2 separate regions of the Homo sapiens genome follow, and region 1 is linked to region 2. Evidence: promoter capture Hi-C in 16 types of primary human blood cells and fetal thymus (Javierre and others, 2016). All regions are on one chromosome and are shown on one strand. Each heading gives the region's core, a stretch centred on a gene start or on the middle of the fragment in contact. The rest is flanking DNA. Distances are from core to core; before and after follow the strand shown. Region 1 overlaps PHACTR1 (phosphatase and actin regulator 1). Region 2 holds the start of RANBP9 (RAN binding protein 9).

Region 1 (2,700 bases), core at 137-2,636, 770 kb after region 2:
ATTTCTGCCTCATAAAGTTTTCAGACTGGTGGAAAATAACTGCTTTGTCATCAAATGACCCTGGGTTTGAATCTGACTCTGTCACTTACTACGTATTTAAATTGTTTAGACCTTTCTGAGCCTCACTTTTCCTTAGGGTGATTGTGAGGATTAAATAATTCACGGAAGTCTACTGCTTACCACAGCCCCTGGCAAGATCTACCATTTCTTTCCCCAAAGGTCATATAATTTATAGCCACTAGAGTCAGGATGCAAACCCAGGAGCGTCTGGCTCCCACATTTATGCTTTCAAAGAAATGTTCTAAATATTTCCTTAAAGTCTCACTACTTTTGATTTAGTTTTTTCCTCCCAAGTCACTAATTCATCATCCATTCAAAAATAAGAATGTTGTTTTTTCAGATGTTTTTCCCATGTCTTCTTTATTTCTCATTGAACCCTCTGCAGTAAACCACTTCCCTCTACATTAACTGATGTGAAAATCATGAGGCAACTGTTGTCATCACAGAAAAAAAAAAAAAAAGCAGAATAGTTATGTTTCTTCAGGTTATACTTGGGAAGCCAGATAAAGTGCTGGGTTATGCAGACCATCCTGTCTCAACAGTGCAGTAGAAAGAGGCATAGTAAGCATCTAGCAGAAAGAACTTGGCTTGCCACGTGGTAATTTATGGGTATTCCTTTTTTTAATCTAGAAGTTGGAATGTTACAAAATTATATTAATGATCTAGGGGACCTCCACTAAAAATCCAGCACCATCGGCCGGGCATACCTCACGCCTGTAATCCCAGCACTTTCGGAGGCCGAGGCGGGTGGATCACGACATCAGGAGTTTGAGACCAGGCTGACCAACATGGTGAAACCCCATCTCTACTAAAAATACAAAAATTAGTCAGCCGTGGTGGTGGGTGCCTTTAATCCCATCTACTTAGGAGGCTGAGGCAGGAGAATTGCTTGGACCGGGGAGGTGGAGGTTGCAGTGAGCCGAGATTGTGCCACTGCACTCCAGCCTGAGCGACAGAGCAAGACTCCATCTCAAAAAAAAAAAAAAAAAAAAAAAAATCCAGCACCATCATTGCACTGTATGTGTAATGCTTCTTTTGACTCTGAGCCCTCTACCATATTGGACACCACACTGCAATTCTTTTCTCTCTTTCTGCAATACCACTTACTCTAAGCTACTTTTTCATTTGTTTGCTTCAACTGTACTTCTTATTTCTTTGCTTTTTCTCCATTTATCTGCTTCTTAAATGTTGAGTTCTCTCTCAAGCCATTTTTTGGCCTTACTTTTCCCTGGATGATCTCACTTCTGATCTTTTAATCTATTTTTCTAGAGCCTTCTCTTCTACACCACTTGCAATTTTCCCAATTCACATCCTTACCCTCTCTTACCAGGTCTTCTGCAATAATCTAACTGGTTTCCCATTTGCAAATCGCTCATATCTCGGAGCTTTGTTTTTCACACCGCCACCAGAATTGGCTTCCTAAAACCAGGTTAGTACATGACACCCTTTCTCAAAGGTTAATATCACTCCCTTGACAGCATAATGTTCAAGTTGTTTAGCATGGCACCCAACTTCCTTCACTACATTCCTGCTCATTTTTCACTCCATCCCTCCCTGATGCCACATTTTCTGCTATTATAGTCTACTTAGTATTCTACACACTTTTCATCTTTCCCTACCCACCTTCTCACTGGACAAGGCATTTCTTTATTCTTTATCTTTTGTGGCATTTCCCAATATATGCTCCTCAGAATACTGGTCTTGTGAGATGTCTACTGAAGAAAAGAAATCTGGTAATCTGGTGTAATACTGTATACTAGATCCACTTCCACCCCCGCCTTGGAGGTTTCATGAACTTTAGCATTTATTTATTTATTTATTTATTTATTTATTTATTTTTGAGACAGAGTCTTGCTCTGTTACCCAGGCTGGAGTGCGGTGGCACGATCTTGGCCACTGCAACCTCCACCTCCTGGGTTCAAGCAGTTCTCCTGCCTCAACCTCCTGAGTAGCTGGGACTCCAGGCACCCACCACTACGCCTGGGTAATTTTTGTATTTTTAGTAAAGTTGGGGTTTTGTCATGTTGGCTCGGCTGGTCTCGAACTCCTGACCTCAGGTGATCTGCCTGCCTCCGCCTCCCAAAATGCTGGGATTACAGTCATGAGCCACTGTACCCAGCTGAACTTCAGCATTTAAAATGCTCTGAGAAGTCCTGCAGCAGGTAAATCAGGTTGGCTTTGCTACCCAGTGTTTCCTAAACACCAGATTCCTCTTTTTCTAGAAACCCGTAAGAATTAGCATTTAATGACCGTACACTGGGAATCCCTGATTTATTCAAATCTTCTTCACTCATTCACATTTTATTTCATCTGTCCTTATTCATGGACTTGGAAAATATTTATTTAGCACCATGCCAGGCACTGGAGAATGTACTGAGAAAATATTCTCGACAGCAAGATGAACATAATTCCTGCTTTCATGAAACTTACAGTTTTGACTGAACAGTGGATAAGTAAACATGCAATAACCACAAAATGCAGTAAGAGCTATCATAGGGGAAACAGAGACAGTTGTGGCAGCGCATAGCAGAAAGACAATGAATCTGGGGGAGTGATTAGGGAGGGCTTTCTGGAGGAAGTGGTTTTATATGGGGACCTAAAAGAGAAGTAGGAGTTAGTCAGATGGGAATAAAGGAGGCA
Region 2 (2,700 bases), core at 141-2,640:
CCCAGCTACTTGGGAGGCTGAGGCAGGAGAATCGCTTGAACCCGGGAGGCGGAAGTTGTAGTGAGCTGAGACCACACAACTGCACTCCAGCCTGGGCGACAAAACAATAATAATAATAATAATAAAAGTACAACAGAACATCTAGTTGTCTGGGTAACTGAGGGAGAAATTAGGCCGAATGACTCTGTTATTTGTTCTGGCCAGATAATCTTGGCCTTAAATTAAATCACCTTTGGCCTACCTTCTTCAAAACGAAATAATTTTCTCTTCGGCAAAACATTTCTTATTTGACCAAATGATTACCATCATATCTTTGGAAGCAAACAAAATATCAGAATTTACATCACACAATTTACATATGCAAAGCCTGATTTTGCCAGCTAGGGAGGGATAAGCTAAACAAAGGGAAGTGGTGAAAACAAAGTAGTAATGTTATGATGGGTCAGAGAGCAACACTTGGCAAGTTGTGCCAAATTAGTCGACGAAGCATTCTATTGGGAATTGCAAAGTAGGAAGTCCTATTTTTGACTCTGCTGATCTCGGTAAATATTTCCTTGTTTTAAAAATGGGCATAATTTTCTGTTACCTAAGAACCCTGTTATGAAAATTAACGAGTCTATAAAATGTTCTGACGTCTCTAGAAGCCCTTCCTAAACACACACTATAATCTTGTATTCATACAGTGCCTGCTCCTGCTTTTTGAAGATATGCCGGTCTTTATTAATGACATCTTCTACCACTGTTAAGTTCACTGTGAGTCCTCGTAAAATTAATTAATGAAACAGTCACTATTCTAAGTGGGAGACTGCCTTCAGAAGTGGTTTCTACTGCCCATATGGTCAATGCTACGGAATTAAACACTGAAGTACCAAAGGCAATGCGTTCCTCTTTGGAGGGAGGCGGCAAACGGGAACGGGACTGAGGCGAGAGCTAGCAGCACTGCGCGGGGAGCCTGAGCCGCTCCGCACGCCCCGGGCCGACGGGTCCTAGAGCGCCCCGGGGCCTGGGCTCGCGGCGGCCCCAGCGGGGCTCGATTACTCTCGCCTGGACGAGAAGCGGCGCCTCGGCTCCGAGGAGCCCTACGGTGGGGAGGTGGGGCGACGACAACAAAAAGAAGTCAAGTGGGAGGGGATTCGCCGGCGAGGGGGGCGACGGCGGCCGCCAAGGGAGAGGAGGCGGACACCTCCGAAGGGACCTGCGGCGCCGGGAGCCCAGCGATCCTGCCCACGAGCGACTGGCGGGCCCGGGAGGACGCCTCGCGGCGCACAGCCGGGAGCCCCGCGGCCCGCCCCCTCGCACCGCTCGCGCCTCTCTCGCGCCTCCGTCCCGCCCCCTCGCCTAGCGCCGCCCGCGCGCAGCGTCTCGCGCCGGCCCGGCCCGCCCGCCGGGAAACAGCCGCGAGAGCAGCGGCCGCGGCGGCCGCCAGCGCGCCTTCCCCTCCCGCGCTCCCGCGTCGCCCCCGCCCTCGGCGCCTCGTCCCCGGGCCGCGCGCCCGCGCTCCGGCCAACGTTCTCTCCCGGCCTCCCGGGCCCGCCGCCTACTCCCGCGTCTCCGAGCTCCTCAACCGCCGCGGTCTCCCTGGGCGCGCGGCCCGCCGCCTGCTTCCGGGGCGGGCGGACTGGGCGCCTGGTGCCGGCGGCCGCAGCGACAGCGCCCCCGGGAAGCAGAGGAGGAAGGAGAGAAGAGGTGGAGGTGGCCGCAGGCTGAGTCGCGGCCGGGATGTCCGGGCAGCCGCCGCCGCCGCCGCCGCAGCAGCAGCAACAGCAGCAGCAGCTGTCGCCGCCACCGCCGGCGGCCTTGGCCCCAGTCTCCGGAGTCGTCCTGCCGGCGCCCCCGGCCGTCAGCGCCGGCTCTTCTCCGGCCGGCTCGCCCGGCGGCGGTGCGGGCGGCGAAGGCTTAGGGGCCGCGGCGGCCGCCCTGCTCCTCCACCCTCCGCCGCCGCCGCCCCCGGCCACCGCGGCCCCGCCGCCCCCGCCGCCGCCCCCGCCTCCCCCTGCCTCAGCGGCTGCCCCCGCCAGCGGGCCGCCCGCTCCCCCGGGCCTTGCAGCGGGCCCCGGCCCGGCTGGAGGAGCCCCGACCCCAGCTCTGGTGGCGGGCAGCAGCGCCGCGGCCCCCTTCCCTCACGGGGACTCGGCCCTGAACGAGCAGGAGAAGGAGTTGCAGCGGCGGCTGAAGCGTCTCTACCCGGCCGTGGACGAACAAGAGACGCCGCTGCCTCGGTCCTGGAGCCCGAAGGACAAGTTCAGCTACATCGGCCTCTCTCAGAACAACCTGCGGGTGCACTACAAAGGTACTGGGCGTGTGTCCTGCGGTGGGAGTGGGGCACTGACCCGACGTGGCCGGCCGCCGCTGCGCCGCTCTCGACCCGCCCCCGACCCCCGCCCTCGCGGGCTCTGCCCTCGGAGGCCACTCGCCGCCTGTTGTGCTGCTCCGGGTGGGCGCGGGGGTCGCGGTGAAGGGTCCGAGGGTGAGGGGCGAGATTCTTGGAAAAGGAAGGTGAGTAGAATGCCCCAGGGTAGAAAGGAGCTGGTAATCCTAGACCAGGAGCAGGACACCTTGAGGGAATCCGGGATGACAGGACAGAACTGGCTTTCTGATTTCCCTGGGAGATAAATCTTGGGGCTTGGGTAGAGGAATCCATGGACTCGGAGTTGGGTTACATTGTTCTCCAGGTGGTGGGTCAGGCGTTCTCCTCTTACA

What was found. The method cuts DNA at HindIII sites, captures the fragments that hold promoters and counts their contacts. A CHiCAGO score of 5 or more calls a contact.
Region 1: a contact is called between a fragment that was not itself captured here and the fragment with the promoter of RANBP9 in region 2, in 1 of 17 cell types (monocytes). The highest score is 5.3, in monocytes.

What each region holds. Positions count from the first base shown.
Region 1 is chr6:12,945,163-12,947,862 of GRCh38, reverse strand. All of the region lies in intron 4 of PHACTR1 (phosphatase and actin regulator 1), which reads right to left. Among named protein-coding and RNA genes, the nearest start is that of PHACTR1, 230 kb to the right of the region's middle. The HindIII fragment of the contact is 4,385 bases long and covers 1-2,700 here.
Region 2 is chr6:13,710,525-13,713,224 of GRCh38, reverse strand. RANBP9 (RAN binding protein 9) reads left to right here and starts at 1,390. Exons shown (of 14, transcript NM_005493.3): 1 at 1,390-2,290. The coding sequence starts at 1,720. It overlaps LOC124901264 (a long non-coding RNA gene), which reads left to right and starts at 471. Exons shown (of 2, transcript XR_007059462.1): 1 at 471-542; 2 at 684-873. RefSeq lists silencers at 886-1,655, 1,816-1,935, 2,016-2,065, 2,326-2,445. The HindIII fragment of the contact is 8,985 bases long and covers 1-2,700 here.